Regions from separate parts of the Homo sapiens genome. Here regions 1, 2, 3, 5, 6 and 7 are each linked to region 4. Evidence: promoter capture Hi-C in 16 types of primary human blood cells and fetal thymus (Javierre and others, 2016). All regions are on one chromosome and are shown on one strand. Each heading gives the region's core, a stretch centred on a gene start or on the middle of the fragment in contact. The rest is flanking DNA. Distances are from core to core; before and after follow the strand shown. Region 1 overlaps SLMAP (sarcolemma associated protein). Region 2 overlaps SLMAP (sarcolemma associated protein). Region 3 overlaps SLMAP (sarcolemma associated protein). Region 4 holds the start of APPL1 (adaptor protein, phosphotyrosine interacting with PH domain and leucine zipper 1). Region 5 overlaps SLMAP (sarcolemma associated protein). Region 6 overlaps SLMAP (sarcolemma associated protein). Region 7 overlaps SLMAP (sarcolemma associated protein).

Region 1 (3,139 bases), core at 601-3,100, 660 kb before region 4:
TGTAATCCCAGCACTTTGGGAGGCCGAGGCGGGTGGATCATCTGAGGTCAGGAGTTTGAGACCAGCCTGGTCAACATGGTGAAACCTCATTCTCTACTAAAAATACAAAATTAGCCAGGCATGGTGGCATGCGCCTATAATTCCAGTTACTCAGGAGGCTGAGGCAGGAGAATCACTTGAACCCAGAAGGTGGAGGTTGCAGTGAGCTGAGATTGTGCCACTGCACTCCAGCCTGGGCAACATGAGCGAAACTCCGTCTCAAGGAAAAAAAAAAAAGGGTTAAAAACCCAAAAGTGGAATTGTTGGATCAAAAGGCATGTTCTTTAAAACTTCCAATAAACAGTTTATAGCCAGGTTTAAAAGGAAATCATACAAAGATAAATATTTAAAGTGATGATATTCTAATTACCCTGATTTGATCTTTATACATTAAATGTATCAAACTATAAAACATATCCTGAAAATATGCACATTATGTATCAATAAGATAAAAACAATAAATTAAAAAGGGAAATCAGTAATGCACAAAACTTTTCCAATAATGATAAAACATAATTTCAAGAAAATATTTTCTAATTTAGAATGCATTAAATATAAGTGATAAGATAGCAAGATATTTTAATTAAAGAAGCATTTTTTTTTTTTTTCCTAAGGCTCTACTTCAAAGTGCTGGCTATTCAACCAACTAATCTGAATAGGTATTTGGATGGTGAGGTAAAAGCTATTTTAAGGTCTGTTCTCATCTCACTTTAATAAGGTGAAAAAAATTGCCATATGTACTAAAAATAGTTCACTGTTCTGAAACTCAATGCCTGTTTGCCAAAACAATATTAATGATGCATATTCTATGCATTTTTTCCCCAAATATGGCATCTGCCGTGCACAAAATTCAGAATGGAAACCACGAGATATTTGAAATAACACCATCCTCTTACATGGTTAAAAAAGTCAAATGAATCCAGTTACTTTAATAAAATAGAATGTACTAAAATTAAGTATCTCAAACTTTTGTAACTCAATGTTTTAATTGGCCAAAAGGACTGTGAATCTAGTTTTAAATTTTATACTGGTATAGTCTAATGAAAGTTCTACTATGATAAACACATGCCACCAAATTTATTTGCCTAATTTCCCTATGTATAAAAGTGACTTGACAATATGGTGCTTTAAAACTCACTTTTCTTCTCTGACAACTGTAACAGAATTAACACAATAAACTACTTTGGGCAATTACTGGACTACTCATAAAATATAAGAAGATTCTACATTCACAAAAGTCATTAATTTTGTTTAAATCAAACTGAGATGCCAAAAATTAAGGAAATATTAAACATCATAAGAGATTTTAAAGGTACTGTAACCCCCAAAATAGAAGTGCAAGCATGTTTCACTTAAGTTGTATCACAAACGACTTACATTGTGTTTGATTAAAATTTGAGATCAAAGCTGAAATTAATGCTGGGAATGACAGAGATTGCAACAAATCTTTAATACCTAAAGAAACCTATATCAAGTACTAACATTCAAAAAACCATAAATATACATCCACTTAAAAAGACACATTCCAGTTACGATACCCTTCTTAAAACAGAAGTCTGATTATTTTATATATTATCTGATACTGTTACTGGCTTGCTATTTTGTGAGCTATAAGAAGTAAACTGATGGTTAAAATACTATAACCTTGAAAATATACACTAACCTTCATTATCCAAAAGAACTGTCAAAAAACATAGAAAAACAGAAAACAAACCTTTTGAAAGCTTTGTTTCTTCTACCGCTTTGGTTAGATGCCCTTCGACGATCAGCTTCTCTGCCAAGGAAAATAAACGTTACCATCCAAGCCCAAACTGAGCAGCATTTCCCTGAGCTGGGCAGTGTAACACATTCCATGACCAAATTTAAAGATGATAACATTACTCCTATGACCAAGCTTGAATAAAAACTTGAATCTGGAAGGGGAACTAAGAGAACTGGAACTATGACGGAGCAATCACGTTAATGCAGAAAACTAGGGGCAGGCAGACAATTTGCCTTTTATTTTCACCTTATTTTAAAAGCCTAGATATTTTTATAAAAAGGGCTCAGAAGAAATAAAGCAATCCTCTTTAGATCAAGGCTATTAAGTTAAAATAAAAGATTTATGAAAAGGTATTTATTCAAATGAAGAAGTAATAAAAATTAAGTTATATCGATAGTTTACTGTTCTCTGCTGACATAATTCAGCAGAGATGCCTATATAATGTATTTCAGTAAATGAATCATTTTAGAAAAGCTATTCAAAGAAATAAAAAAATTTTGTTTTGTTTTATGGGGGATTTTCTGTAAATGTATAATGCTACTTTTTTATAATTTAAAGTCATATTTTCATATTCCACGTTTCATTGAAGAGGATATATCTATTCTGTGTCCCCTTATTTACTCCTGTATGTCAGTTGGTCTCCTTCAATTTATTCATTTGTAATATATGTGAAGAAAATTTTCTATTCTCTTGCTTTACAACCAACTGCAACTTGGTCTACATCCACCACTCAACCATTGAAACTGCTCCAATATCATTATAGCCTCTAGTCTCCCAATGCCCATGGCTCCTTTTCTTAATTTTCATTTCTCATAGGCTCTTTGCAGTATGTGGCACTTTGTCTCTGACTTTTTAAAATCAGAAAGAGGGGCCGTGCGCAGTGGCTCACGCCTGTAATCCCAGCACTTTGGGAGGCCAAGGCGGGTGGATCACGAGGTCAGGAGACAGAGACCATCCTGGCTAACATGATGAAACCCTGTCTCTACTGGAAACACAAAAAATTAGCTGGGCATGGTGGCGGGTGCCTGTAGTCCCAGCTACTCGGGAGGCTGAGGCAGGAGAATGGTGTGAACCCAGGAGGCGGAGCTTGCAGTGAGCAGAGATGGCGCCACTGTATGACAGAGCGAGATTCCATCTCAAAAAAAAACAGAAAAAAAGAAAAAAAAACAGAAAGTAACAGATTTTGATTAAGATGTATAATGTAAGCTGTCCTACCTGTCCTCTGTCCTACTTCACTCCATTCCTAAAATTCACTTCCTACAACTTTTAGCCATTTCTTCTGATACTTACATTTATATTTCTAAATAATACATTGATTTTATTTTTCCATTTTAGATA
Region 2 (3,021 bases), core at 284-2,783, 540 kb before region 4:
GTCCAACCAAGAGTAAGACATTCACAATAAGGAAGCAGAGAGAAAAATCAAACTATATGGTACTTCAAAAGTTGCTCTGTTAATCCTACCTACCTTGAATACTCACTCACTGTCTTCTACTTCCTATATCCCAAGCTGCTTTCACTAAGCTATTACTTCATCTAACATTCCTTTTTGGGCCTAGGTGCGGTAGCTCACCCTGTAATCCTAACACTTTGGGAGCCTGAGGTGGGAGGGTTGCTTGAGCCCAGGAATTTGAGACCAGCCGGGCAACATAGTGAGACCTTGTGTCTTAAAAAAAAAAATCCAGCCGGGCGCGGTGGCTCATGCCTGTAATCCCAGCACTTTGGGAGGCCAAGGCGGGCGGATCACGAGGTCAGGAGATCGAGACCATCCTGGCTAACACGGTGAAACCCCATCTCTACTAAAAATACAAGAAACTGGCTGGGCGTGGTGACAGGCGCCCTGTAGTCCCAGCTACTCAGGAGGCTGAGGCAGGAGAATGGCGTGAACCCAGGAGGCAGAGCTTGCAGTGAGCCAAGATCGCGCCACTGCACTCCAGCCTGGGCAACAGAGCAAGACTCCATCTCAAAAAAAAAATAAAATAAAATGAAAATCCTTTTTGGAGATATAATTCAAACACCATACAATTGCCAATTTAAGTATACAATTCAGAGTTGTGCAACCATCGCCACAATCAATTTTACATTTTCATCATCCCAAAAAGAAACTCGTACCAATTTGGCAGTCATATCCTATGTTAGTCAAGGCTCTAGAAAAACAGAACCGATTGCATGTACATTTATATAGAGAGATTTATCTAATGGAATTGGCTCACGCAACTGGGGTGGGGGGTGCTGGCAAGTATGAAATTGGCGGGGCATATCATTAGACTAGGGATTCAGGGAAGAGCTGTTGTGTAGTCTTGAGTCCAACAGCTTTGTGAGGGCAAAATTCCTAACTTCAGGGGGACCTCAGTCTTTTTTTTTAAGGCCTTCGACTGATTAGAGAGGCCCACCCACATTATGGAGGGTAATATGCTTTACTCAAAGTATAATGGTATAAATGTTAGTCACATCTAAGAAATACTTTCACAGGAATATCAGGTTGGTGTTTGACCAAAAGTTGGTCAAGTGAAAAACTGATACCACAGCCTAGCCACACTGACATAAAATTAACCATCACATTCCTAATTACCCTCAGCCCCTAGAAACCACCAATCTTTGTTTCTATGAATTTACCTATTCTACACATTTCATATAAACAGTTGCCCAGGCTGAACTTGAAATCCTGGCCTCAAGCAATCTTCCTGCCTCAGCCTCCCAAAGTGCTAGGATTACAGGTGTGAGCCACCACACCTGGCCTGCTTGACTTTTTATGAGAATGTATTCCTGTTATTTGTATAAGTAAAAAATAAGAAAAGCTTGAAAGTCTATATTGGAAAATCCTTTCTGCTTGGCTCAGCTAGAATAAGTCAGTACTTATATATAAATAAAACTGTAAGCCTGAAAATATTGAGAAAATCTTAACACACAGTTTCTATGTGCTTAAATTTAAAATCCAACCCAAATTGTATACTTGACAAAAGATACAGTACTAACCACCAAACACGTCCATATTTTCAAGTGCCTATATAAGCTTTCCTTCTTTTCTTTACATTTGTCAGCTACTCTCTTATAAAGCATGAAAAATGTACATGGCCAAACAAGTTTTTCCAAGGCTGTTTCATTCATTTTCATATATACCCAAAGCCAAATCAGTTTGCCTGAATGCAAGCCCAAGAAAAAATATTGTATTTCTAGGAGTAGTAGAGGTAAGTTTTTAAAAATGTTAGCTGACTCAGAGAAATAATTAACTTGAGTTATTTCAGTCTTTGAAAGTCCGTAATATGACAAGTTTCGGTTATACATCAAAAAGCAATAGCTTAGATTACCTTTCAAGAGAGCAAAAGACAGATTTTCATAATAATTGCTCAGTCCCTAAGAAGACAGTTCAGAATAAATGTCTAATAGTTGGCTTTCATTTTGGGGGGAAAAAAACTCCCATAGTTACCACTAGATGATCTTGTACAAATAACCTCTAAACATCAAACTCTTTTTGGACAAAAGCGAGCCAGACTGCAGCTGTTTTACTTACCTTCTAAGAGTGTTATATAGACCAAATGAAACAAGAAAGCACTCTGATTATTCTAAAACCTTTTAAAATTATTTTGTGTGAAATTGTAATAGTTCATATATATAATTTCATATCACCAATCACAAGATTTGGATCTACGATCCAAAAACACTTAGCAAAATGTTTTGCAAACTGCAAGCTCTCAATAAATAATGACTTATACAAAGACTACATATTGATAATTGAGTCCATGATCTCAAATTGAGAACTAACTTGAATGACTTTCTGCCCTTTAACACTGCACAGGTTTGCAGAAATACAAACCGCTCCATTGTTCACATTTCCCTCATTCAAACATGAATGTAGTGCCTATTCTCTTGCTCTCAAGAGTTCACATCTGATGGGACAGTAGTACATTTGCATCATAGTTATTTTGTTGTTTATGTCCCATAATGAAATTATATACAGGCCGGGTGCAGTGGCTCACACCTGTAATCCCAGCACTTTGGGAGGCTGAGGCAGGTGGATTGCTTGAGGCCAGGAGTTCGAGATCAGCCTGGGCAACATGGTGAAATCCCATCTCTACTAAAAATACAAAAATTAGCCAGGTGTGCTGGGGGGTGCCTGTCATCCCAGCTACTTGAGAGGCTGAGGCAGGAGAACTGCTTGAACCCATGAGGTGGAGGCTGCAGTAAGCCAAGATCACACCACTACACTCTAGCCTGGGTGACAGAGAGGGACCCTGTCTCAAAAATAAAAATAAAAATAAATTTAAAAAAAAGAAATAAAGAAATTATACACAAAGTTAAATGGAAGTATAGAGGAAGAAGCAATTAATTCTTCAGTTAAAGGGAGTCAGGGAAGGTTTCACATTGGAACTGAGCCTTAAGGGATGACAAGAAGAGG
Region 3 (2,970 bases), core at 58-2,557, 620 kb before region 4:
CCTAACAAAGTTGGTGCCTAGTAAAGATTTTTTTAAAATTATGTATAACTTTACTCCAGAACATTGAAATAGGCATTTTAAACAATAATTTATTTTTCTTGAATATAACAAATATTGATTATGGAAAATGTGTGAAGTAAATCATGAGGAAATACATAAAAATTACTCAATACCAGCACTCAGAGATAACCATTGTGGGTATATATCCTTTTCTCTGCAGATATGCACATATAGTGAAATGAACTTAAGAATGTCTAAATGCCAGATGATTTGAGGTTAGGAGTTTGGGAACAGCCTGGCCAACATGGTGAAACCTGTTTCTACTAAAAATACAAAAACCAGCCGGGTGTAGTGGAGGGCACCTGTAATCCCAGCTACCTGGGAGGCTGAGGCAGGAGAATCACTTGAACCTGGGAGGCGGAGGTTGCAGTGAGCCGAGATCACACCACCGCACTACAGCCTGGGCAACTGAGCAAGACTCCATCTCCAAAAAAAAAAAAAAAAAAAAGTCTAAATAGAAACAAATGGTATAATAGGGATTTTTTTTTTAATTCACCTTTCTTAGTGACCCAAGTATAAAATCTTCTCATAACAATCCCATTAATAAACAAATGGCTAAAAATCCGGCAACACATTCCATAAGTGATATACATCTGTATTTTACAAAAACTACCCTGGATATAAGTATATTCTGAAGTATGAATTAAGTTCATATGCATATACAAACCATAAGAAGGAAATGTGGAAAATGAAAATAGTTACTTAGTGTTAGAGTGGTGGGATTATATGCAATTTTTTTTTTTAATTTTTAAAATTTTTTTTTGTGGAGACAGAGTCTCACTCTGTCACCCAGCCTGAAGTGAAGTGGTCTGATTTTGGCTCACTGCAACTTCCGCCTCCGGGGTTCAAGCTGTTCTCGTGTCTCAGTCTCCTGAGTAGCTGGGACTACAGGCGCTCACCACCACGCCCGGCTAATTTTTTGTATTTTTAGTAGAGACGGGGTTTTGCCCTGTTGCCCAGGCTAGTCTCAAACTCCTGAGCTCAGGCAATCTGTCCGCCTCAGAGTGCCAAAGTGCTGGGATTACAGGCACGAGCCACCTGCGCCAGGCCTCTCTGTTTCTAATCATTAGAAAATGGTTGGCCCAGGTGCAGTGGCTCATGCCTGTAATCCCAGCACTTTGGGAGGCTGAGGGGAGCAGATCACCTGAGGTCAGGAGTTTGAGGTAGCCCGGCCAATATAGTGAAACCCCATCTCTACTGAAAACACAAAAATTAGCTGGGCATGGTGGTATGCACCTGTAATCCCAGCTACTTGGGAGGTTGAGGTAGGAGAATCACTTAAACCTGGGAGGTGGAGGCTGCAGTGAACCGAAATCATCCCACCGCACTCCAGCCTGGTTGACAAAAGTGAGATTCTGTCTCAAAAAAAAAAAAAAAAAAAAAAGAAAGAAAAGAAAGAAAGAGAGAGAAAGGGAGAGAAAGAAAGAAAGAAAGAAAAAGAAAGAAAGAAAGAAAAGGAAGGAAGGAAGGCAATTATTGGCTGGGCCTCTTTGTTTCTTATCATTAGAAAATTATTGACCAGGCCTCTCTGTTTCTTATCATTTAAAAATTATTGGCCAGGCGTGGTGGCTCAGGCCTATAATCCCAGCACTTTGGGAGACCAAGGTGGGTGGACTGCCTGTGCTCGGGAGTTCAAGAGCAGCCTGGGCAACATGGTAAAACCCATCTCTACTAAAAGTACAAAAAATTAGCTGGGCGTGGTGGTGTGCACCTGTAGTCCCAGCTGCTCAGGAGGCTGAGGCACAAGAATTGCTTGAACCCGGGAGGTGGAGTTGCAGCAAGCCGAGATTACTACACTCCAGCCTAGGCAACAGAACCAGGCTGTCAAAGAAAAAAAAAAAAAAAAAAAAAAAAGGAAAAGAAAGAAAGAAAAAAGAAAACAAAACAAAAGGAAAATTATTTGTGCAGTGTAATAAAAATTAAGGAAGGAAAAAAGTCAGCTTGTTGAGTACTTACTATCTTCTGAAGTTCTTAAAAGCAATAAATGCTATGTACACAATGGAACTTAAACTCTAGGCTTTCTGGCATACCCAAAAGCATCTTAATGCTTTTAAAAATTAGTTTACAGTAATAGAAACAGCTAAAGTTTATTGTGTGCTTATTATATGCCAAGTACTATGCCAAGTTCTTTAAGTACTAAATCTTGTTTAATTCTCATAAAATTCCTGTTAAATAGGTACTATCATCATCTTCATATTTCAAATGAGAAAAATGTTGCCTGATCAAGTCACAGAACAAGTGGAGTCAGACTTTAAACTGGACTACCCAACTCTAAAGGCCATTCTGATCTTCCTCCAGCTCTGGAGAATTGCTTGTTCAAAATTCATCTTCTCCAGAAAGTTAGATTATGTATAACTATATTGGCAGCAAAAATTTAAGTGATACTAATATTTAACCATATAAGAAAAGACAAACAATGAGAAGAAAATGGGCAAAGATGAAAAGAATTAGAGAAACACAAAGGATAGAGACACAATACATTCCAACTGACTTTGAAAAAATTTACAAGTTCTACTAGATGGAACCTGAGAACACAGATGATTCCTTACGTAACTGTTCAAAGTTTTCAAACTGCATGAAAGAAAAATCTCATTATCAAATACAAACATCAAGGTCTTTAAGAAGCAATATATCATTAGTTGATTAATAGTTACTCATTTCTAAAACCTTAATTCTTAACTCTTAAAAGCTAAGTTATATTAAACTTCCTAAAGTTTATTTTAATTTTAATAATTAAGCTGTAATCGCAAATAGAAAACACATTAATGTTTTAAATTTACGATATTACTTCATATGCCAAGGACAAAAAAAAAGGAAAAAAAGAATTAAAATGTTTTAAAACCTATGCTATTTTGCTTCAGATATCTTGAAAAGTAAACAAACAAGGAAAAGTATGTGGCTTCTAACAAG
Region 4 (2,852 bases), core at 316-2,815:
TGAATCTTACATAATAAAAAGTAAAATGACAAAGTACACCTGACCAATTCCACAAACTTTTTGCAAATCATCTGAAACAAATACAGTTTATAACTTTATATGGAGAAATCATCAAGAAAAAAATTGAACCGAGTATACTGGCAGTCAAGATAAACCAAATGTGAGTTTCTCTTTTTGTCACTATCAGCTGTTAAGAGTACATTAGCAGCAGGCAACTGGCCTGTGAAGATAACTTTCAGAATAAAAAAGAACAAATCAATTCTACAATCAGAGCCCCATTTCAACTTGGCAATTAACATTGGCACAAAATCCATGGCAGAAGTGCCATCCAGGAAAAGGAGATCTAGACCTCTTCTGCTTTTCTTCTTTGGGGGCCATGTTCAACTGTAAAGACACACGAAATGGTGCAACTGCATTTCTAAATCAGCAACAATTCAGAAATGTTTCATTCTAAATAGTGTCCAACCAGCAACACCGTCTTAAACCGTTTAAATTATCGTGTAAAACGGCTTAGAGATGAAGTTTTCCCTATGCAAGTTACAGCCCCTGCCAACATTTTAAAAAATATAGCTGCTTTCATTCTGCAGTACTGAAAACATATTAAATGGTTACATTTTCCAAAACTGTCTTAAGCTAGAGCAACCACATCAGCATCATTCCGACGCACAGAACACAGGGCTTTTATTTTGATGAGTTTATTAAGGCCAAGTCTGCAGGGAGCAGCGCAGCAGTCGCGGAGCGGCGAAGGCACCGTCCATCCCTCGCCGTGCACAGCTCGAGTGACAGCGACCACAGTCACGGCCGCGACACGGGCACATTCGGCGGGGAGAGCGGTCTTGGGCTCCGGGACCCGTCACGGGCTTTGCCATTAGGGCTCCACACACAACCTTACAGCCTCTCCCAAAGAAAAACGATCCATTTCCTTCCTTAGCTTGCTGAGCCTCGGAAATCATTAAATAAGACTATCGGGGTTTCTCTCCCTTCTGCAATTTTTCTGAAGAGGTTCTCAGGGAGAAAATTCCAGGATCGAGATTTGGCACCTCACATCACCGCGATAAAAACGGCGCCTTTCGTCAAATAAAAAGGACCCGCGCGCGTACGTGACCGCCCGGCCCACGAGCACCAGCGGCTCGGTCTCCGCCTGCGGCCCTCGGCCCAGCCGAGCAGGCCCACGCGGGCCTTGGGCGGCGGGCCCAGCCTCCACAACTCCGGGCGCGGCCTGCGACGGGCGGTGACCTAGGGCGGCGGCGGCCCCCACCTGGGCCGGGGCGGGCACCTGCGGGAGCCGCGGAGGCGCCAGACCTGGGGTCGGCCAGCTGGGCTCTCCCTCGTCGCCCACCAGCTCCCGCGCCTCACCTGCGGGCTGTCCTCCAGCGTCTCCTCGATGGGCAGCTTGTCGATCCCCGGCATCGTGGCGGAGGGAGGGCGGTGGCAGGAGACGCAGCTGCCGCCCACAGCTCCCCGCGCCGGCCCGCCCGCCGCAGCTGACCCCGGCCCGCCCTCTCCGGCAAGGGCTGCAGCCGTCCCCGCCCGCACAGCCTTCTCCAGGCGCCGAGCGGCCGTGCGGGAAATCCCGCCCCCTCGGCCTCCCTGCCCCGCCTCCCGGCGCGTCCATTGGCTCCCGGGGACGCCCATCCGCGCTGCGGCGGTGGTCGGGAGGTTCCCGTGCGGCGCTAGGCTCTCCCGCGAGCGCGGGCGTCGGAAGCGGCGGAGGTGGCAGTGTCTGCCCTGGGATGGCCTTCCCTGCACGCGCGCGTTTGTATCTAAATCGCAGGGGACCGTCTCTTCCTCAGCTTGCCGGCGCGAGGAGCCAGAGCCTCGAGTTAGGGCCACACGGGGGAATTTGGGGCGGGTTGACTTTTCCCGCAACATATTTTGTCAGAGACCTTGGAGAAAGTCCTACTGCTGGCGCCTTTTAGTTTCCTCAGATGATAACATTCCCAACTCCGCTCGAAGCGTCCAGTCTTAATCCCCTCCAGCAGAATGGTGCTGACTAACTCAGATGTCTGAGATCCGCAGCTGTGTCAATAATAGGGCTTTCTGGCAAACTTGTGAACGTAGGCTCGAAATTGTTTTTCTGGACGCTTGAATATCAGTATATTCAGTTGAAAACATGTGATTTTGTTGCCAGTTTATCAGTTCCTACCTGGCCTCCCGAGGTCAGTCCTTCAGGACTGACGCTGCAACTCCAACTCCCATGTTTCTTTTAAATCACAAAGGAAAATATCTTTTAAAAATCAGGATACACTGATTAATTATGTTAGTAACTAATTGGCATTTGTTGAATCAAAAAGTTTTGGAAGCGTTAAATAGTTTTAGCCTCTAATTTTACAATAAAGTGAAGCTCAAAGTTGGGAATTTGACCGGATGAGGGCTACAAGCCTATCCTTTCCTCCTCCCTCTTCATCTTTCCCAACCTGTCACCCTGGCTCGTTTATGTCTCTGTATAGTTGTAGGCTTTCATCATTATACAGAGAAAATAACAAAGTAAGTAGTGTCTTCTAAACATCTAGCCATTAATTCCACCAATCCATTCCATTTTCATTCAAGAAATACCAGAGATGCTGAGTAAAGATTAATTAGCTGCCTGGTTCCACAGATACATGGGAACAAATCCAGAATAGTAGTAGCTCAAATCCAAATATAGTAACAAATAGAAGTTATATATTTTAAACGAAAATAGTAGATTTTCCCATGATCTCTTGAAAGAAAAATAAAATTATATTTTTAAAGTTTTGTTGAGTAGACTTGCATTGTAGTTTTACGGAATTATTTTTAGTGTTACAATCTTTAAAAGTTTTCCCCTTAGATTGTTTATCAGCCAGTCTCTCTCTCCCGAAGAGTTCTTTAGT
Region 5 (3,265 bases), core at 427-2,926, 640 kb before region 4:
TTTTTGTAGAGATAAAGTTTCACCATGATGCTCAGGCTGGTCTGAAACTCCTGAGCTCAAGCGATCTGCTTGATCGCAATGAATATAAACTACACCTTTAAAAATTCTCAAATTTAAATTCCATCAAATTGGAATTTTAAAAAGTCAATGCATTTTACAAAACATACGTAGAATAGTCAAACAGCAATGATTAATGAACATTTTTCTTGAGAGTTTCAAAATTCATTACATATGCAAATAAGGTTTTGACCTTGCAGCTAACATACACACAATTACCTGAGCCTATACTGCCAGCTCTTGATTAAAACCTGACCAAACAAAACCAAACCAAAAAAGAACCAAAAAACCCACCTCCTAACTCTACCAGTTTGATTGCTGCCCAAGAACTATTATGATATCCCTTGATACATGGAAAAAATATTTTGTCTTTTCTTTTCTTTTCTTTTCTTTTTTAAAGACAGGGCCTTGCTCGTCACCCAGGCTGGAGTGCAGTGGCACAATTATGGCTCACTGCTGCCTCAACCTCCTGGGCTCAGCTGACCCTCCCACCTCAGCCTCCCACGTAGTTGGGACTACAGGCGCACACCACAATGCCTGGCTAAGGGAAAAAATATTTAATAAGTTCTGGGTATCAACTCTGATATCTTCGACTAACTTCTGTAGAAAACTGAGATGAAAGGCACATAGATTGGTAAACACAGAAAAGAGTTTAATTTCTACTGTACTCCAAGCACCTAGCGCAGGGTCTGGCACATAGTTGGTGCTCAATTAATGTTAGATGGAAGGGGAGAGAAGGAGAATGACTAGGGATCTTCAAGACTGAAGGATAATAGAGGTCACTGGGTAAAAAGTACCCCGTGTAGTGACAGGAAAACCAATAGTGGCTATATGTTTTTGGCAAGAGAGAACCCACGCTGTCCAGAAAGAAGGGTCACAGAACCAACAACTAATAAAAGATTTTTCTGATGGCAGAAAAAACTGACCCTGTTCTCTCTGATCAATGAAACAGATGGATAAACAAAGTAGTTTCTATGATATGTCCAAGGGCTCAATAAGCTGTTAAATAAACTCGAATGTTTTAAATGGGGGTCAAGTATCACTGGAGGCAGAACTTGATGAAACAAAATGGTAGTACAGCTCTTCGAAAAACAGAGTGGGGAAAAAGATCTATATTATATATTGCTAAAGGTGAACTTAATAATTTTCTGATTTGAGTAATTGAAATTTCCATATAACAAGGGATATCTAAGAATTGATCACAGCATCAACTCTTACAAAATAAAGGAAAGCTTGATTTTTAAATGATGGGGTTCAATGATCTGTGAGAGCATGCTTTTCATTCCAAACACTTAAAACCCTGAACTCCTTATCCTGCTTAAATACTAAAATGATATCATAAAAAGTATATATATATTTAAGTTTTTTACACTACCTTTTTCTGTGCTCCCATTTATTTTAGGTAAGAAGTCATCAACTTGTATCCCTAGGATTAAGACAGTATATCATTGCCTGATCAAAGAAGTATTACTTTAAATGTGGTCTCAAGTGTAACCATGGCATTCTGCATTCCTAAGATTAAGATTGTATAGAACACTTTAAAAGGGATCCTGCTGTTCATGTACTTTTCTTATTTAAATATCCCGAGGTAGAAGATCTCAGAGCAGAAATTTCACTCATCTCAAGGAAAACAATGGTGCCCACTGGTGGCAATCAAGCATATTTTTAAAGAAAATTTTCTAAAAGAATATAGATACTTTATACCTAATACATAAAACATCCCTTAAAAAATGCAGTGTGAGACAGTAAACAAGGTCAAAAGTTTAAGGATAAAATTCAGGTTTAAGTAAGAAATATGGATGCCACCTACCCAAGCTGCTGCATTCTTTAAGAGTTTTCTCCTGAAGATGTTCTAACCGTACTGTAAATAAAAGTCCAAAAAAAAAAAAGATATTTCACAGATAACAAGAAAAAAAATAAAATAAAATCAATTTCTGGATTAGCTACTTACCTTGTAAAGCTGTTAGCCTTTCATTGGTGAAATCATTATCAGCTTGCAAAGCTTCTATTTTTGCCTGGAGCTCCTGTTCTTTTTCTTCCATTTCATCTATTTTATGTTGTAATTCTTTTTTCTCAGCCTGTCCCTTCTGTTGGATTTCCTCTTGTTTTCCCTCTGCTACCTAGAAAAATAAGAAAATTCAGTTATTTAACAAACCTAACTCTGTTTTAAGAGCGAGCCCCAGGAATGCCTTTATTCACTTAAACTTCTAAGAAAAGTTTGTTCTGTAGAAAAGAAATGTTCTACAGAACATTATCTGTAAACCTGACATTTCTTTCTTTCTTTTTTTTTTTGAGATGGAGTTTCACTCTTGTTGCCTAGGCAACCTCCGCCTCCCGGGTTCGAGTGATTCTCCTGCCTCAGCCTCCCAAGTAGCTGGGATTACAGGCATGCGCCACCATACCCAGCTAATTTTGTATTTTTAGAAGAGACGGGGTTTCTCCATGTTGGTCAGGCTGGTCTCGAACGCCTGACCTCAGATGATCAGCCCACCTTGGCCTCCCAAAGTGCTGGGATTACAGGCATGAGCCACTGCGCCCGGCTAACCTGACATTTCTAAACCAGTAAAGATGATAAAGACAAAGGCTTGATGTCAAAAATTATCTGCATTGGGTTATTCCTCCATAACACCCAGGAGAGAGAAACTTGGAGGAAGCAAGTAGGCTCAGTACACACAGAGGTAAAGGGTCAATGTGGAAAAAAAAATCGTATTTTTAAAGAGGGAAGTAAGATTTTTCCCTAAAATTACTATCATTTCAATTTTGAAGTTCTATCATGTTAACATTCTGAAATTTTAAACAAAATTATTTAGTAACGAGATGACAGTACAATCACTATTCAAAAAGACCTCTCTGCCTATAGTTTGGATGTTCGTCCCCCAAGCCTCAATGTTGAAATTTGATCCTCAGTGTTGGAGATGGGGTCTAATGAGAGGTGTTTGGGTTATGGGAGCAGATCCCTCATGAATGGCTTGGTGCTGTCCTCATGGTAATGAGTGAATTCTCACTCTATTAGTCCTATGAAAGCTGGTTTTTAAAAAGAGCCTGGCACCTCTCCCAGACCCTCTCTCACCATGGAACACGTACCAGCTCCACTTTGCTTTCTGCCATCAGTGGAAGCAGCCTGAAGCTTCAGCCTGCAGAACTGTGAGCCAAATAAACCTCTTATCTTTATAAATTACCCAGGCTCAGCTATTCCTTTATAGCAACA
Region 6 (3,026 bases), core at 454-2,953, 570 kb before region 4:
CCTTGCAACAATCCTATGAGGGAGGAAACGAAGGTCCAGAGAGAACAAGTGACTTGTCCAAAATCAGCCAGGAAGTGACACAGCCACGATTCACACCCAGGTAGTCAGGCTCCACGATCCATGCTCTTAATTACCAGGCTAGACTATCCTAATTCCACACTCTTTCAACCACATCATGCAAAGTCTCCTGGAAGTTTATTACAAATACACAAAACAGCTGAGGGACTTTTATTTTACTAAACATCCCAGAAGACTCTACCGTTTGAAAACTACTATTCTGATCTTAACAACAACAAAAAAGAGCAGAACACTTAATAAAACTCCTCCCATAAAACCTTTGATAGTTATATTGGTGGATGTTTTAAATATAGAAGGGAGAGCCAAGTAAGAGAGTACTCAAAATGGTTAAAATACATGTTTATGGCCTTAAATTAGGCAATGGCTTCTTAGAAATGACACCAAAGGCACAAGTGACAACATGAATTTAAAATGTTTTAATTACTAAAAATTACTTATAAAAATAAAAATAGATAAATTGGACTTCATCAAAATTAAAAATATTTACACTTTAAAAGATACTATCAGGACAAATACTATATGATTCCACTTATTTGAAGCACCTAGAATAGGCAAAGTCCTAGAGACAGAAAGTAGAATAGAGGTTACTAGAGGCTGGGGGAGGGGGAAGGGAGAGTTATTATTTAATGGGTACAGTGTTTCTGTTTGGGATGATGAAAAAGTTCTGGAAATGGAGGTTATAGTTACACAACACTGTGAATGTACTTAATGCCACTGAAATGTACACTTAAAATTGTACAAATGGTACATTTTATGTTATGCATATTTTACCACAATCAACACCACCAAGACAACCCACAGAATGAGAGAAAATACTTACAAATCATTTATCTGATACAGGAATTATATCCTGAATATACAACTGATAATCCAATTTTTCTTTTCTTTTTTTCTTTTTCTGAGACGCAGTCTCTCTCTGTTGCCCAGGCTGGAGTGCAGTGGCGTGATCTCAGCTCACTGCAACCTCTGCCTGCCAGGCTCAAGCAATTCTCCTGCCTCAGCCTCCCAAATAGCTGGGACTACAGGTGTGCGCCACCATGCCCAGTTAATCTTTTGTATTTTTAGTAGAGACGGGGTTTCACGACGCTGGCCAGGCTGGTCTCAAACTCCTGAACTCGTGATCCGCCCGCCTCAGCTTCCCACAGTGCTGGGATTACAGGCGTGAGCCACCATGCACGGCCCCAATTTTTCAAAAGGATATAAATCAATATTTCTCCAAAAAAGATACATACAAATGTCTGATAAGGACATGAAATGATGCTCAATTATTAGTCATTAGATTATCAGATTATTAGTCATTAGAGAAATACAAATCAAAATCATTAGATACCATTTCCTACCCACCTGATGGCTACAAAAAAGACCAACATTAAGAAGTATTGACCAGGAAGTGGAGAAATTCCTGGTGGGAATGGTATAGGCACCTTGGAAAACATTTTGGCAGTTCCTCAAGATGTTAAACACGGAGTTACCATATTACCTAACAATTCAATTCCAAGGTATGTACCCAAGACAGCTGAACACAAATTCACACAAAAGCTTGTACACAAACTTTCATAGTGACATTATTCATAACAGCCGAAAGTAGAAAACAGAAACTCAAATGTCCATCAGCTGATTAATGGACAAATAAAATGTGGTAGCTATCTCTAGAATGGAATTTTATCCAGCAATGCAATACCTACATAAACTAGAACTTAGATGAAGCTTGAAAATGCTAAATGAAAGAAGCCAGACACAAAAGACCACATGTTGTATCATTCCATCGATATAAAATGTCCAGATAGGCAAATCTAGAGAGACAGAAAGCAGATTAGTGGTTGCCAGGGTCTGAAGGGAGGAGAAAATGGGGGGGTGACTGCTAATGAATACAAACTTTCTTTTGGGAGTGATGAAAATGTTCTAGAATTAGGTAGCGGTAATAGATGCGCAATTTTGTGAATATACTAAAGACCACTATAGTGTACACTTAAAAAGTAAAAACAAACTAAAATGGTTGAGAAATTCATAAAAAAACATAAATTTTGAAACGAAGTGCTTATAAGTGTTAATATAAGACTGTAAGTATGTGACTTTTGAAAGAGACTCAGGACAGTAAAAGCCAAAGGATAAAGACAAAGTCTTTGTGGTAACTACAGACCATGGAGACAAAGATAGAAATGCCAAAACTGTCAGAAAATTAAGAACCAGGAGAGTATAGCGTACGAACAGAATTTTGGAAAGTTCTATTAAAATGCACACTAAAGAAGTTAGGAAAGTGAGTTTCAGAATAGGGAGAAAATAAAAAGAACAGCCACCAAAACTAAATCACTGAATGACTCATCTAAAAAGTTTCCTGATGACTTTAGAAAACTGTTTTTTTGTTTTTAAGAAAGGGTCTCTCTCTCTCTGTTACCCAGGCTGGAATACAGTAACTCGAACACATCTCACGGCAGTCCTAACCTCTTGAGCTAAAATGATCCTCCCATCTCAGAGTCCTGAGTAGCTGGGGCTACAGGAATACACCATCACACCCAGCAGGATTTTTTTTTTTTTTTTTTTTAAGAAAGATAGTTCTCACTTTGTTGCCCAGGCTGATCTTGAACTTCTGGGCTGAAGTGATCCTCCCACCTCAACCTCCCAAAGTGTTGGGATTACAGGCATGAGTCACCGCACCAGCTTTAAAAAATAAGCGAAGGTTTACCCATCAGAAAAGAACAAGGTTAAGAAGGTACATATATTATCTAAATTCATAAAACTGAAGGAGATATGGGCAGATTTCACCAAATGCTAGTAGTTGAGGACAAAACTAAAATTTAACCAGAATACTCTGGAAATGTATGAAAGTATTGCTATTACACAGTAAATTAATAGGACAAATTAATTATGCTGGATTTGCTGCCAATATTTCAGAAGCACTCTCATTTGTTCTAAATAGGCTGAGGTAATGATGAAAGATAGATGATGGT
Region 7 (3,150 bases), core at 296-2,795, 590 kb before region 4:
AGGATCACTTGAGCCCAGGAGTTTGAGGCTGCAGTGAGCTATGAGGCACCACTGCACCCCAGGCTTATGACAGAGTGAGACCCTGTCTCAAAACAAACAACAACAAAAACAACACCTTACCCATAGAATAACAGCCATGTTTGCCACAAAAGGAAGTACCCGTGATCACATTTGTGGGAAAAAAAGAACAAGGTCACTAGGTTTAAAGCCTTATAAACTGTTTAATAATGCATACAATGGGCTCCATCTAAGGATAGTTGATATTGATCTATACAGTCATTAAGAGGTAGGAGAGAGAGAAACTAAAAGAAAAAAATTTCCATTAAAGATTGGTAAAATTGGAAAATCATAGGACTATGCATCTTATTTGTGGGGGGGAAAAACCTGCCCACACACAAAGAATTTATTTGGCAAACAAATTCAGTGGAAATGTTAAAAGACATAAATAGTACACCTGCCCAAAAAAGAACATTCATAGCTTTTAAAAATGCTTTAAATTTATGAGGTAATGAAAATAATTATGATGGCCTTTTCATTCTTTAGGCACAATCATTCAAGTTGGCATATAACTTTGTTTCAAACATCTTGGTCTTTACTCATATTTCTTCGTTTTTAGTCATAGTTAATTCTTTGAGAGATATATCTCCTCAAGGCTTTGAAAATTTAGACATCCACAGGTAAGTTCTTTAAAAATTATAATAATTCTACTTTGAAAGACAAAGCAAACAAACTTTCTGGGGACCATAAGTGAATAAATGGAAATAATAACAATGCAATTTATGAAACAGTCATTTTGTCTGAAATGGGAAATGACTATTTGGAAGAAGGAAAATAAACTCCTTATGTGAGTTTAGTACAGAGGCTCTCATTTTTCTGCTGCCACATGATTCAGCTGTTCAAACACCTCTCATGATATCCAGCACTTCTCAGAATTAGTAATGCTCCCAGTTAAGAATCACTAATTCTTTTAAAATTTTGAACTGAAATTTAGTAATAGAAAGTATCACATTCAAATTCTATCTCTATTTATGACTTAAACATAAGTCCCTAGACATTTTTCCCTAGGAAGTTTTTGGAGCCAAAGCTTATGAAAGTATGAAGTTTTCTTTTAAAAGCATTGCTGATTTCTTTCACTACCATCAAAGGTAACATCACTTATATCCAGAATCACTTATATACATCACTTATATACAGAAGTTTTAACAAGAGAAAGCAAGATCAAAGAAAATTATTCTACAGTGACAAAAGGGTACCACATAATTTACAATAATCATTGCCAGTTTTTGAGTGCTTACCATGTGCTTGGATAAACTACTCTGCATGCATTTTTTCACTTAATCTATATAACACTCTCATGAGGCAGATGTTATATTATCCCCATACTTCAGATAAAGAAATCAGGACTATGGCCAGGCGCAGTGGCTCACGCCTGTAATCCCAGCACTTTGGGAGGCCGAGGCGGGTGGATCACCTGAGGTCGGGAGTTCGAGACCAGCCTGACCAACATGGAGAAACCCTGTCTCTACTAAAAACACAAAATTAGCTGGGTGTGGTGGCGCATGCCTGTAATCCCAGCTACTAGGGAGGCTGAGACAGGAGAATCGCTTGAACCCGGGAGGCGGAGGTTGCAGTGAGCCAAGATTGCGCCACTGCACTCTAGCCTGGGCAACAAGAGTGAAACTCCATCTCAAAAAACAAAACAAAACAAAACAAAAAAGAAATCAGGACTAAAAGAGGTTAAGTAACTCGCCAAAGGGTCTCCTAAGCTAGTAAACTTTAGATCTCAACCATTCTGCTATACTACTTAATGTTTATCTGGCAATTTTATATCCACTATCTCTACTATTTCTCCAGACCGCCTATAAAACAGCAAGGATTCTGTTCATTTTATAAATCAGTAAATTTAGGCTGACAAACCAAGTGACCTATCTATAGTCACAATGGTAAGAATAGTAAAATAGCAATCAGACCTTCTGATGCCAAATCATCAGGAAAGGTAAGCTTTTAAAAATTTCTTTCAGAAATTCATTCACTACCTGCTACCACCTATTTGACACACAATCCTAATAAATTTGGGTTTTCCAGTTTCTGTGTCCATGACAGAGTAGAAGGGAACTAGCTTTTGCTCATGCTAGGAGCTATACTAGGTACTTTACATACACTACCTCATCTAAACTTCAGAACACTATGAAATAAGCAGCATCCCACATGAGCCAACAGAATGAGGAGTTAAAACATAAGTCCAAAGATTATACAGAAAGAACAGCAAACAAGGCCGCTTAGACTCCTCATGAATATGGCAAATTCTTTGAAGATTGGGGTATTCCCAATCCTAAACAAAATGCCTTCTGAGCAGGAACCAAATAAATATTTTAAATAAATATTACATGACTGTAACATCTACAACCTAGACTCATCTCATCATTTACCCATCATTTCCTGAGCATCTCTTAACAGAAATTCAGTCAGCAGCCACTAATAATAGAATGGATTTGTGACCATCAGAAATCACTTACAGTAAGTGCATAATAACGGTAATAATACTATCAGTAATAATAAATAATATCAATAAAACCTCAGGGCATCTAATGTGTCACCAATTCCTATGATTTCTGATTCAGTAAAATCTCTCAATTGCATACTGCCTTTCCCTTCCGATTACAGTTCCTCTTACCCTAACCATTGCCAAGATAATTCCACACTCTACACCCTCCACACTGATGCTAGACTTATTTCCTAAAACACAAACCTGATCACATTGTTTCACTTTATAAAAAGACTGTTGACCCTCTGCTGACTTCAAAATCAAGTCCAAGAGCTGTGACTTTCAAAGTCTTTCAAAATGACCCTAATCACCCTATCTAACCTAATCTTCCTCTTTTTCTCAAAGTACTATCCATTCCACCCTTGCTTAACTACTAGCAGTGCCCCTGCACAAGCCCCAGGCCTCTCTGTCTTTCCTTATGCTGCTCTTGGACTTCAAAAGCCCTTTGCTTCCACCCACTCATACTCTCTACCTGTTAAAAGTCACCTTTTCTTTCTGAAGTTCAGTTTAAATAGCTTAACAAATAAGATTTCTTTCAGATAACATTTCTCACAAAATAAACACTTTCCCCCAACTAAATCCAAGACTCAGGCTTTATTCCAAGT

The links. The method cuts DNA at HindIII sites, captures the fragments that hold promoters and counts their contacts. A CHiCAGO score of 5 or more calls a contact.
Region 1: a fragment that was not itself captured here is called in contact with the fragment with the promoter of APPL1 in region 4 in 8 of 17 cell types (naive B cells, naive CD4 T cells, naive CD8 T cells and 5 more); the score reaches 6.4 in naive B cells.
Region 2: a contact is called between a fragment that was not itself captured here and the fragment with the promoter of APPL1 in region 4, in 1 of 17 cell types (fetal thymus). The highest score is 5.1, in fetal thymus.
Region 3: a fragment that was not itself captured here is called in contact with the fragment with the promoter of APPL1 in region 4 in 3 of 17 cell types (naive B cells, endothelial precursors and erythroblasts); the score reaches 7.4 in naive B cells.
Region 5: a fragment that was not itself captured here is called in contact with the fragment with the promoter of APPL1 in region 4 in 7 of 17 cell types (total CD8 T cells, naive B cells, M2 macrophages and 4 more); the score reaches 7.5 in total CD8 T cells.
Region 6: a contact is called between a fragment that was not itself captured here and the fragment with the promoter of APPL1 in region 4, in 2 of 17 cell types (naive B cells and endothelial precursors). The highest score is 8.6, in naive B cells.
Region 7: a fragment that was not itself captured here is called in contact with the fragment with the promoter of APPL1 in region 4 in 6 of 17 cell types (naive CD8 T cells, endothelial precursors, megakaryocytes and 3 more); the score reaches 6.8 in naive CD8 T cells.

Annotation. Positions count from the first base shown.
Region 1 is chr3:57,888,715-57,891,853 of GRCh38, reverse strand. SLMAP (sarcolemma associated protein) reads right to left here. Exons shown (of 25, transcript NM_001377540.1): 15 at 1,754-1,813. Among named protein-coding and RNA genes, the nearest start is that of FLNB, 120 kb to the left of the region's middle. The HindIII fragment of the contact is 170 bases long and covers 1,766-1,935 here.
Region 2 is chr3:57,766,780-57,769,800 of GRCh38, reverse strand. The region is part of intron 2 of SLMAP (sarcolemma associated protein); the gene reads right to left. Among named protein-coding and RNA genes, the nearest start is that of SLMAP, 12 kb to the right of the region's middle. The HindIII fragment of the contact is 215 bases long and covers 1,426-1,640 here.
Region 3 is chr3:57,842,250-57,845,219 of GRCh38, reverse strand. The region is part of intron 4 of SLMAP (sarcolemma associated protein); the gene reads right to left. Among named protein-coding and RNA genes, the nearest start is that of SLMAP, 87 kb to the right of the region's middle. The HindIII fragment of the contact is 3,716 bases long and covers 1-2,970 here.
Region 4 is chr3:57,226,442-57,229,293 of GRCh38, reverse strand. APPL1 (adaptor protein, phosphotyrosine interacting with PH domain and leucine zipper 1) reads right to left here and starts at 1,565. Exons shown (of 22, transcript NM_012096.3): 1 at 1,357-1,565. The coding sequence starts at 1,410. It also overlaps a transcript of HESX1 not described here. RefSeq lists a silencer at 1,108-1,767. The HindIII fragment of the contact is 8,451 bases long and covers 1-2,852 here.
Region 5 is chr3:57,863,460-57,866,724 of GRCh38, reverse strand. It overlaps SLMAP (sarcolemma associated protein), which reads right to left. Exons shown (of 25, transcript NM_001377540.1): 11 at 2,009-2,177; 12 at 1,868-1,918; 13 at 1,433-1,483. Among named protein-coding and RNA genes, the nearest start is that of SLMAP, 110 kb to the right of the region's middle. The HindIII fragment of the contact is 770 bases long and covers 1,292-2,061 here.
Region 6 is chr3:57,793,491-57,796,516 of GRCh38, reverse strand. All of the region lies in intron 2 of SLMAP (sarcolemma associated protein), which reads right to left. Among named protein-coding and RNA genes, the nearest start is that of SLMAP, 39 kb to the right of the region's middle. The HindIII fragment of the contact is 168 bases long and covers 1,620-1,787 here.
Region 7 is chr3:57,816,712-57,819,861 of GRCh38, reverse strand. All of the region lies in intron 2 of SLMAP (sarcolemma associated protein), which reads right to left. Among named protein-coding and RNA genes, the nearest start is that of SLMAP, 62 kb to the right of the region's middle. The HindIII fragment of the contact is 917 bases long and covers 1,087-2,003 here.